Linked DNA regions of Homo sapiens: region 2 is linked to region 1. The links are contacts of gene promoters, found by promoter capture Hi-C in human tissues and cell types (Jung and others, 2019). All regions are on one chromosome and are shown on one strand. Each heading gives the region's core, a stretch centred on a gene start or on the middle of the fragment in contact. The rest is flanking DNA. Distances are from core to core; before and after follow the strand shown.

Evidence for each region. The method cuts DNA at HindIII sites, captures the fragments that hold promoters and counts their contacts. A contact is called where the count stands out against the background at its distance.
Region 2: a fragment that was not itself captured here is called in contact with the fragment with the promoter of RS1 in region 1 in 2 of the 25 tissues and cell types used here (dorsolateral prefrontal cortex and heart left ventricle).

What each region holds. Positions count from the first base shown.
Region 1 is chrX:18,668,105-18,674,756 of GRCh38, forward strand. RS1 (retinoschisin 1) reads right to left here and starts at 4,004. Exons shown (of 6, transcript NM_000330.4): 1 at 3,913-4,004. The coding sequence starts at 3,964. The HindIII fragment of the contact is 16,600 bases long and covers 1-6,652 here.
Region 2 is chrX:18,620,554-18,625,424 of GRCh38, forward strand. It overlaps CDKL5 (cyclin dependent kinase like 5), which reads left to right. Exons shown (of 18, transcript NM_001323289.2): 17 at 4,575-4,694. Among named protein-coding and RNA genes, the nearest start is that of RS1, 49 kb to the right of the region's middle. The HindIII fragment of the contact is 4,270 bases long and covers 1,487-4,871 here.

The DNA.
Region 1 (6,652 bases), core at 2,754-5,253:
CAGCCTCTAAAGGAAAAATAGTGAAATATTTCGATTATGTGGTTGCATATTTTTCTCCCTGTTTAGATGGCTTCTGTGATTCCGCCACATGTTACATGAGACATCCGCCAGTCACCAATCTTAGATTTATGCAATGTGGGCTTAGATTTATGCAATATGGGCTCATTCTGCCCCTTGGTCCAAAAGGGCCACTCTGCTGTGAGGAAACCCTTGTTGTCACAGCAGGAAATTTCAAGGCGTGTCTATTTCTTGAAATGTACCTTGCAACCCATGAGGAAAGGCGCGCTTTAGATACACACAGGAAAACCTAGTTTAGTCTCTTGGATTGGGTATCACCAACCATAGAGCGTTCCTTCCCATGGAAACAGATGAAGCCGAGAAGAAAAGCATAAAATTATGAATGATTAAAAATGGTCTGTAACCAGCTTCCAATCTGCTTGAGAAACAGGAGGAACGCACGCAGCAGGCTGCAATAATGTCCCTCTCGTGAAAGAGAAAGAAGGAAATTGCTTCTGGTGTGAAAGTGTTACTATTTTAGGCGACAGGCATATTCATGGGTAAATCTGTTATCTGCACATGCTTCAAACACAGATGAACCTCAACCACATATGCTAAGCGAAAGACAAAAGACCACATGCTGTGTGACTCCATTGAAATGAACTGTCCAGAACTGGCAAATCTTTAGAGACAGAAAGTCGATCCGTGGTTGCCCAGGGGCTGGGGGAGGGGGGAGACAGGGAGAATGGGGAGCGAGGGCTTAATGTTTGGGTGATGAAAATGTTCTAAAATTAGATTATGTGCTCCACAAATCTGTAAATATACTTAAAACGATCGAACAATAGACTTTCAATGGGTGAATTTAAGAGTATATAAATTACATCTCAATAAAACTGCTTTAAAAAAACCCCTGCAATCTCTGATGGTAACACAGTCACCTATAAGTTGAGGCTGAAGGACTTTTTTTGTTTTTATATAATAAACATGACCAAGTAATGAAGTAAGATATTTTAATACGATGGATGTTCTAAAAATCCTTATTGGCATTGAATCCAATATGTGCGGTGTAAGAGAAATAGAAGCCTGACTCAATTATAAGACATAGGAAGCCAGGTGCGGTGGCTCATGCCTGTAATCCCAGCACTTTGGGAGGCCGAGGCAGGCAGATCACCTGAGGTCGGGAGTTCGAGACCAGCCTGGCCAACATGGAGAAACCCCGTCTCTACTAAAATTACAAAAATGATCCGGGCGTGGTGGCACACGTCTGTAATCCCAGCCACTCGGGAGCCTGAGGCAGGAGAATCGCTTGAACCCGGGAGATGGAGGTTGTGGTGAGCCGAGATCACGCCACTGCACTCCAGCCTGGGCAACAAGAGTGAAATTCTCAAAAAAAAAAAAAAAAAGACATAGGAAATGCCTTACTGTGAGGCTGTGTGCTCTCCGAAATGAACCTTCATCCAACGCCTAAGTGAAGGCAATTTCTTTACCTTATTTCACTGTAATGAGGAGACACTGCCACTGAAGGACAGAAGCAGTGGAGGGTAAATTGGACAAACAGCCTTTGTCTTCAGGTTCCCAGCTGTACAATGGGATGCATCTTTCCCATGTCTATGGGCCTTATGCATCTCCATCTGGATAATATGCTGATTAAGTTCAGTGATTGTGTCCTCTGTCCCCTGGAGCATCCCTCTGGCCCAGGGTAGGGCACACAGTAGGTTGCCAAGCCACACTGGCTATTTTTGGCTGGCTGCTTTCCTTTCAAGTGCTGTTAAAGGCCTGCGTTAAGCAAGTAAGATAATTTAAGCTCCCCAAACCTTCCCACTGGCCCACGTTGCAGGGCACCTGGAGAGACGATGTTCTCTGCTCTTCGTGGACATTTCTGGAGCTCCCCAGCCATGCACAAAGATTGGTAAACTTTAGAACACGAAAGAGTGCTATCCTTCATGCCTCCTGACAGCCTGTCTTTTATTGCTGATATCCACTAACTGGGCAGGTCTAATTTTAAAATGCTTTGGTAAACATTTCTAGGACTTCTTCGCATCGCGGGGGTGGGGAGGTCACAGAACAGGGTTGTTAGACTCAGCACTGTGGAAGAAACAAGGATGCCCTGCATGTCAAGTCCTTTTTTTTTTTTTTTTTTTTGAGACTGAGTCTCGCTCAGTCACCCAGGCTGGAGTGCAATGGCATGATCTCAGCTCACTGCAACCTCCCTCTCCAGCAATCAGACGATTCTCCCGCTTCAGCCTCCCCCGAGTAGCTGGGATTAGAGGCACCTGCCATCATGCCCAGATACTTTTTGTATTTTTGTAGAGACGGGGTTTCACCAGGTTGGGCAGGCTGGTCTCAAACTCCTGACCTCAGGTGATAGACCCGCCTCAGCCTCCCAAAGTGCTGGGATTACAGTCATGAGCCACCGCGCCCCGCCGTCATACACAATGTTTGCCCCCTAGCAGATAGTCAGGGATGAGCTCTTAAAAGAAGGGACCAAGGAATGAATGAATGAATCTCCATGCCAATCACAAAGAAGAGAAATCCGAGAGTGAGCCCTGGGAGTGTCTGACAACCAGGAGTATTTAGATCTAAGCCTTGAAAGAGTCTGCTTAGATTTTCTTGCTGAGGAAAGAGGAGGGGGCAAGGAGTAAAAGGAAAAACAACAAAACCCCAAAGCATCTTAAAGTAGTCAGAGTTACTGGGACAAGTTGCAGACTATTAATTGCAAGGGGAAAAAATCCTAACAGACAACTGGTTTACATGATCCCTACTTAGAAATATACCTTGGGGTTTGCAGAATGACCTTGGAATTATATTGTCACCAGTCTTTCCAAATACTGAGAAATGTGACTAAGTAACAAAAGTCATCAGCCTGGGAAACATGGTGAAAACCCCTCTCTACAAGAAATACAATAAATTAGCCGGATGTGGTGGTGCGTGCCTGTAGTCCCAGCTACTAGGGAGGCTGAGGCAGGAGGATGGCTTGAGCCTGGGAGGTTGAGGCTACAGTGAGCCGTGAAACCAAGAATTCTGATTCTACTTGTGTGAGTTTCGCTGTGTCTGTCTACCAGGTCATTTGCAGAGCACAGAGACCTCCTTCTCCCTGCTTTTTAATTTATTTTCTATAACACACAAATACACGATGTCCACAAAGAAGACAGGCAACCAATTTCTAACATCTGGATGAACCTGAGGAGAAATTCTGAGCAGATGGGTACTTGAGAATTGAGAGAGGCATGAAAGAATATTATTTCAAAGATTGAGAGGGAATTGGAACTGGATGACATTTTACAGATTTGCCCTTATTTTTTCCTAATTGAAGCATATCACTTCTGCTAGGGTCATATTTAGAAATTTTAAAATGAGTGAGTGTACTGAGTCTCCGAGGTTTCCTGACTCTCAGTTGGATTATGTTTTTTATTAGATTCCAGTGGTACTGGGTATGTTACGTTAATCCATATTTAAACTAGGTTGACCTTACACCCCAATTTGCCCTGGATGGTCCTGGGTTACACCTGTCGTCCCAACAGAATTATTAATAGCATCGTCCTCCACCGTCAATAGCATTCCGGTTTGGAATATTAAATTCTACAATCACTCCCACTTTGACTCCTAAAAGTTTTCCAGAATATGCCATACTTTCTCATTAATTGTTGCAACTTATGGCTATTTTATAGATTTCTGAGACCCATCCTGTTTTCTGTTGGATTTTAAGCATCCTTTGAACTTTAGAAGGCTCCTCACAGAACTGGAAAGCCATCCACACAAAGACAACTGTTGTTCATTAATAACACATGTTAGTTAATTAACGTGTTGCTAATTAATAATATTTATATTATTCAGGCTATATTCCTATTTATCAACGATATTAATTAAATTATGTATTAAGTATGCAATGAATGTCAATGGTTGAATAGCACATACCTTCATAGCCAAAGAGAAGTAATAACAAAAAGCCTTCTATCTTGCGTGACATCTTCCCCTCGTCCTCGGCCAAAGCTCTACCTTACTGAACTGGAGAGCTGGCCCAGGAGCAGGGGATTAAGTTGAGCCCTGGCCTCATTAAGCATCTTAATCCATTTAGTTCTTAGGTCTTTGGCTGAGCCCCATCAAGTTAACCCACAGAGTTACCTGCCTCAACAAGGAAGTCTCATGGAAGATACTAGCATCAACTGAGATTCAGTTCGCGAGGAAGATACTTTTCGTTCTTTTTTTTTTTTTTTTTTTTTTTTTTGAGATGGAGTTTCGCTCTTGTCACCCAGGCTGGAGTGCAATGGCGCCATCTCGGCTCACTGCAACCTCTGCCTCCCGGGTTCAATCTAGTCTCCTGCCTCAGCCTTCCGAGTAGCTGGGATTATAGGCTCACGCCACCACGCCCAGCTAATTTTTGTATTTTTAGTAGAGATGGGGTTTCGTCATGTCAGTCAGGCTGGTCTCGGACTCCTGACCTCAGGTGATCCACCCACCTCGGCCTCCCAAAGTGCTGGGATTACAGGCGTCAGCCACTGCGCCCGGCCCATACTGTTCATTCTATCTTAATGTAAGGGAAGCAATGGAGGGAGAGAACTACAACCAGAAGTCTCAGGTTTTCGTCCTTTCTTCGCCATCATTTTTTAGGGGGTGACCTTGAACAATTTCCTGCCACATAAGCACTAACATTCTCGAATTGTATGAAAATGTCATGGATTCCCCTCTTTGAAAGCAACTAGGCATCATGTGCACACCTATTCACTCAGGAAAATGCTAAATTTGGTGGTGGTGGGAGGACAGTTAACACAAAGCTGTGCATTGCTGTGTTACTTTTAACAACAACAAATTGGAAACAATCTAAATGGCCAAGGTTAGGGGGCTGGTTAAGTAAATCAAGAGATGAGTGCAGCCTGGTAGGTTTAAGAGCACAGACTGCCAACCCAGACTGGGTGCCAAATCGCAGCACTAGCACTTGTTACATTGTGACCTCAGGGCAAGTTATTAATATCTCTGCGCCTAAACTTTCTCATCTGTAAGATGATGATAATAATGCCTACTTTCGAGAGTTATTTTGAGGCTTACAAGAGATCATATGTATAAAATACTTAGCACAGTGCTAGACATAATTAGCTATTATTTTTACATCACCATTCAGAATAAAGTTGATGGGAGGAAAAGGGGAGTTGTTTAATAGGTATAGAGTTGAGTTTTGCAAGATGAAAAAGTTCCCGAGATCTGTTTCACAACAATGTGAATATACTTAACACTACTGAACTGTACACTTAAAAATGATTATGGTGGGCTGGAGGTGGTGGCTCACACCTGTAATCCCAGCACTTTGGGAGGCCAAGGCAGGCAGATCACTTGAGGTCAGGAGTTCGAGACCAGCCTGGGCAACATGGCGAAACCTCGTCTCTACCAAAAATACAAAAATTAGTCGGGCGTGGTGGCGTGCACCTATAATCTCAGCTACTCGGGAGGCTGAGGCAGGAGAATCGCTTGAACCCAGGAGGCCGAGGTTTCAGTGAGCCGAGATTGTACCACTGCACTCCAGCCTGGGTGACAGAGCCAGACTCTGTCTCAAAAAAAAAAAAAAATGGTTAAGGTGGTTTTAAAAAAGGCCGGGCACGGTGGCTCAAGCCTGTAATCCTAGCACTTTGGGAGGCCGAGGCGGGCGGATCACGAGGTCAGGAGATCGAGACCATCCTGGCTAACACGGTGAAACCCCGTCTCAACTAAAAATACAAAAAATTAGCCGGGCGAGGTGGCAGGCGCCTGTAGTCCCAGCTACTCGGGAGGCTGAGGCAGGAGAATGGTGTGAACCCGGGAGGCAGAGGTTGCAGTGAGCTGAGATCACGACACTGCACTCCAGCCTGGGCGACAGAGTGAGACTCCGCCTCCAAAAAAAAAAAAAAGAATAAAGTTGATGAAGTGATTGTAATAACAGGGAAAGAGTTACACTCAAGTTAGAAAAAGACGCAAATTTCTACACTGTTAAGGATGCATAACTAGGTTGAAAATGCAGAGAAAAATACTGAGTGCCCCTTCCCATTTTATATTTTTTGCTACCACCATCTCACCATGGCCCACACCCTCATTCCTCTTGTCAAAGATAAAAAAGCCAATATTTAAACAAATAATAAACTCCCCAAAGGAAACTGTAATGAAATAGTAAAGAGGAACAGAAAGAAACTAGAGAAACGTTTGCTCATTCAACCAGTATTTATTGAATGTCTACAAGCCTGACATTTATTTTATACTGTGTATGAACTCTATTCCACAAATTCTACTGCTGCATTAAAAGGGACTGTGGGGTTTTTTTTTTTTCGTGCTCTGCACATCAGAGTTTAATGAAAAATAGAACTTTTAATCAGAGTCATAATCATGACCGACCTTTAATAATTCACCTGCAGTCAAAGCGCTGCTGTATTGCCTGCCACATTTTAGTTGGAGGTTGGGTGGCCGGCCCTTGCTGGCTTGCAGGCAAAGGGCAGCCAGGTGCATTCCCCGAGCGCCCGATTTTCCGAGGCGTACTGGGAGGAGAGGTGGGGTAGGGCCCGGCCGGATCGGGGGCGCCGGATCGGGTCTAGGACTTCGCCCGGCCCCTGCCCTCCACTACTTCTCATGTCGGACTATGGCGGCAGTGACCTTGTGGGATAGGAGAGGGTATCTGTCATTTCACTTCTGCGAGAAA
Region 2 (4,871 bases), core at 2,372-4,871, 48 kb before region 1:
TGGCTCCATGGGACCGTTCACATCACTTCACTGAACCACCCAAGCAAGGATCCTGCTGGTTTAGTGACATGAGAACCTTGGGGAAACCCGGCCTGTAGGACAGCAGCAGGAGTAGTTCTTCCCCTAGATGAGGCTGCATCCCCCTTTTCTTTATGACAACTTCAAGGCTAAACAAGGTAGAGTTAGCCGTTTTTATTTATTTATTTATTTTAGAGACAGGGTCTCACCCTGTTGCCCAGGCTGGAGTGCAGTGGCATGATCTCAGCTCCCTGCAACCTCTACCTCCTGGGCTCAAGTGATCTCCCACCTCAGCCTCCCAAATAACTGGGTGCACGCCATCACACCCAGCTAATTTTTTGTATTTCTTGTAGAGACAGGGTTTCACCATGTTGCCCAGGCTGGTCTCGAACTCCTGAGCTCAAGCAATCTGCCCACTTAGGCCTCCCAAAGTGCTAGGCATGAGCCACTGTGCCTGGCCTAGTTAGCCATTTTGAATGGTTTTGGTTCTAGTTTTACTTCATACGTAATTTATTCTTATTTATTTGAAGAGGAAAAAGACACAATCAAAATGGCCTGTTCAGATGGACTTCACTGATTTCATCTATAAGTTTAGTAGATTAGACCCAGTGTTTCTGAGGCCCTTTCTATTATGAAAATTATAGAATTATGACTCAATGGGAAGTAGATTAGGTAGATGTTCATAGCAATGTGTATAAATAACCTGAAGTAAGCATTTTTATCTCACAGATGTTCTAGAAATGTTAACAAATACCTTCCTAGATAATCTTTCTAGATCATTCTTTCACTTGCTTGCTTGTTAAATTTATGTATTTCCTTATAAAATAAATATGAGTTCATTATAGAAAATTTGAGAAAAAGAAAAAGATCGTTTTAAATCTTAATACCCTACCACAACTAGTATTAGGATTTTGGTATATTTTCCTCCAGCTGTTTAGCCTATGCATATGTTTGTGGCAAGAAGGTGGGGTTTTTTTTTGTTTGTTTGTTTTTTAAGTTTTAAATTAGAGCAATCCTTTTAGTACGATTTTGTATTCTGGCTTTTAACAGTTTATCTATCTATATCTACATGCACAGAATATGTATGTTACTACAAATACTTTATTATCTTCAATCCTAATGGCTGCATAATATTTCTGAAGTAGTCATTAAAAAAACTGCCCATATTTTTAACTGAAGCTTACTTTTAAAGTGTCAAATCAAAATGCCACTCAGTCAGATACTACTATAATTGTTACTTAAACTGGGTGAACAAATAGACCTGATTTAACATAGGAATACTTAAAATGTTTAAAGTGTTAATAAAACTTTTATCATTGTCTGTAGAACATGTTTCTCTATCATGAGCGTTAAACTTTGGCTACCTCCTGACCACTGTTATTTTTATTTTGTGGTTTTTGTTCTAAACCACAGGTCTCCTGGCATTGTGGGGTGATTAAGTGGTAGAAAGTAGGAAAGATTAAGGAATTGAAGGTGTTTTTGTATATAGATTTAGATTTTGATGTTTACTGTAGAGCAACATTAAACCTAAAGTCCCTGGCTCACTGTGGCACAAGTAGAGTATACATGTTGGCTGACTTTATTATTCAGAATTTAGTTAAATTTTAGATATTTTAGTAATATAGATTAGAGTAAAAAGGAAAATAACCATTCTCTAACATCCTCTCGACTTAAACTTTTTATTAGGTTTTCATAAGTTTCCTTTTTGATATTAAAGTAACTGTAGAATATCTCTGCATAGGCCATAATGCCTTAAGCTTTACCAACCCAAAAGTTGTTTGTATCTCTGCATCTTTTAATTAAATGAAACATAAAATTTAAGGGCTTTGGGATTTCCAAAGAGCGCTCAGTACAGCCTTCCAAACCTCAGAGTCCTACGCCTGACATTGGGTTAACTCTGCCTACTTTGAATGAGCATTTAAACTGTTAATAGTTTTTCACTTTCTAGAACTCAGCAAAAAGAAACTACATAGAATAAGCTTCAAAAGATTTAAGGCATTGTGGCCTTTGCATAAGATTCCAAAAGAATGAAAATCTGATGCCCAGTGTACATAGAGACGCATGACATGTTAAAGCTGAGGTGGATCCTAAATCTAGTTGAATTTTTTTATTCACTGGTATAGGAACTGAGCCCAAGCAAGTTGTGGGCTTGCTTCAAAGCCCAAAAATCACATAATCAACTGGGAGAACCAGAACTGCGTTCTCCTAAATACCAAGTCCAGGCTCAATTCATACCATGGACCCGCCTCTGTGGGGAGCCTCTAGGAGCTCTCCTCTGGCCTCTTCAGCGATGCAAGTTAAACTCTTCCTCGAGGTTCCTGTCATTGGAACAAGAAAATTTGTGGGATGTTTTACTCAAATCCCTTTTTACATATACCCTTAAAAGATTACCTAAATACTTGAATACCTTCATAGACATTCTAGTTCTCTGACAATTGAGATATCCAAAACAGGGAAAAGTGGTGACAAAAAAAAATAATTCTGTATTGTAAAGGTGCCTGCTTCGACTCAAGCAAATCTGGAAGCTGCCTTGGGAAATCTGGCTTTGGTTACATATCCAGAGTTACATAAGTCCTCAGAGCATATGGTGACTTTGCCAACTTGGTAATTGTATCCTAGTTAGTTAGTATCTCAACTTGTGATGATGCTTCCATTTAAATATTGAAATTTCTGTTTCTTCTCTTTGAAAACCAGTATCTGAATTGTGCTAGATGTTTTCCATTGGGTAAATATTTCTAGCAGTACAGAACAAGGCCTCTTACTCAACATTAGTATCCCACCACAGTGATCAATACCTCTTCCTAGTGATGTTTTCAGGCTTAAAAGTTGACCAAATTCGAAAGGGTTTCCAGTATGTTGGGATTTTTTTTCTCCTAATAGGCAAATTACATGGTAGATTTTTTACTTGCTGAAGTCCTCTCTAGCAATTAGGAGAAGATTGAAGTTTATCAGTAGCTCTTTAACACAGTTCTTTATAACCATATTTCTGATAGTAAGTAAAAATTATTTAACGTTTTATAAGCTTAATGTGAGTAGGTGTGTCTAGGTCTCTTGGCATTCCTACTAGAGGTATTGATCATGATCTCACATTATATACTTAGAAGAAGTTTGTGCTTGTCTTGAATTTGCATTATTGACATCTTCACATCCAGGTGAGAATTGGCACAGAAGCTCTAGATGCACAGCACCGAGATTCTTTCAGTGACTGTTAATATTTAGCAATTTGAGGGCTTCCAAGGGCTAGTAGTTTCAATAAGAGCACTTTTTTTTTTTTTTGCAATTAGTTTATTTGTATCTTATATTGCAGACAGATTCCACCAACGGGGAGAATCCAAGCATCAAGAAATCCCTCTTTCCTCTTTTTAATTCAAAGAATCATTTAAAGCATAGTTCTTCTTTGAAAAAGCTTCCTGTAGTCACTCCACCCATGGTACCCGTTTTTATGTATGGTAGCCCTGAAAACTGCTCCAGTAAACTTGTTTTACTGATGACAACAGCATGTCTTATTTTCATGAGGTCATATTCTCTTTATGCTAGTTAAGTACGTGAGCCAGTTCCATAAATTCACTGGGATATAAATTCATTGCCATTCTTCTGAATCAGTTAAGAAAGTTGAAGCACAAAGTCTATTAAGCAAACAAACTAGTGAAAGGCTAGTTTGTCATGTCTGATTAGCCAGTTATGGGCAGATAACATTTATAAAAGCCTGTATTTTATGTAAGGAATTCTGTTAACATTTACAGTTAACAAATATCTTTGCATTTGACTCACAGAGTTTGTTAACACTTGATTGGCAATTTGTCTTTTTGAAGCCAAGTTGAATTGACCAAATTGAATGAGCTAACAGGCTCCATGAAAAAACAGCTTGTTTCCTTGTCTGGCTTGAGCTTTTGCTGGTCAGTTTAAAACCAGGGCTTTTGCTTGGCATTTGACATTACTCTTCTGTGTTCACCAAAACTGGTGAATAGAGCAATTGCATTCATCTGGAATTTGTGGCACAGATTTCCAGCATTTCTCTAGTACATAATGATAGATCCAGATATATCAGACAGTGGTTTGGGAATATGATCCAAACCATACTTTCTCACTTTGCTATCCTTGAAAGCCTACCAGACTTCTTTGGCACTACCATATACAGTGTTTGGATCATTTTCCCAGCAGGAAAAAATTTCTGTTTTATTGAACTGGTTCACAACCTAACTGCAATATGGAATGAGGATACGACAGCAATTCCTGGTACAGCCCTATTTAACTGCTCTCTCTTACAGCGACTAAAACTAACAGCATGGGAATGCTTTAAGGGTTGAGGTTTAACAAAGCTGCATGACATCTGCCAATTTTTCCTAATGCAGGGAAAATTATTAAGAGGGCAGAAGAATTTAACTAGCATCACTTGCATTGTGAACATTGGGAGAGATTGGGGTTCTATTTTTACTGGGTTATTTGAGTTTTGGTTTGGTTTGCTTTTTAGTTTGGTTCTCCTCTTGGGTGTGGTTGCATATCTTAATTAGGCTTCTCAGTGTGCTTATTGAATGCTTGTCCATATTTTGCTCTAGGTACCCAATTCCGACAGCCCTGATCTTCTGACGTTGCAGAAATCCATTCATTCTGCTAGCACTCCAAGCAGCAGACCAAAGGAGTGGCGCCCCGAGAAGATCTCAGATCTGCAGACCCAAGTGAGTGGATCCTGCACCACTGCTAGACTCTCCAACTCTCCAGTAACTGTCCTGAGGAGCGGGGAGGGCATGCTAGAGAAAACTTAGCCTCTCAATGTTACAGTAAGGCTGAGCACCTCCTCAAAATAGACCCTCAGTTATAGCCAGATGCATCTCGTGAGCCAGGATGAATCTTGC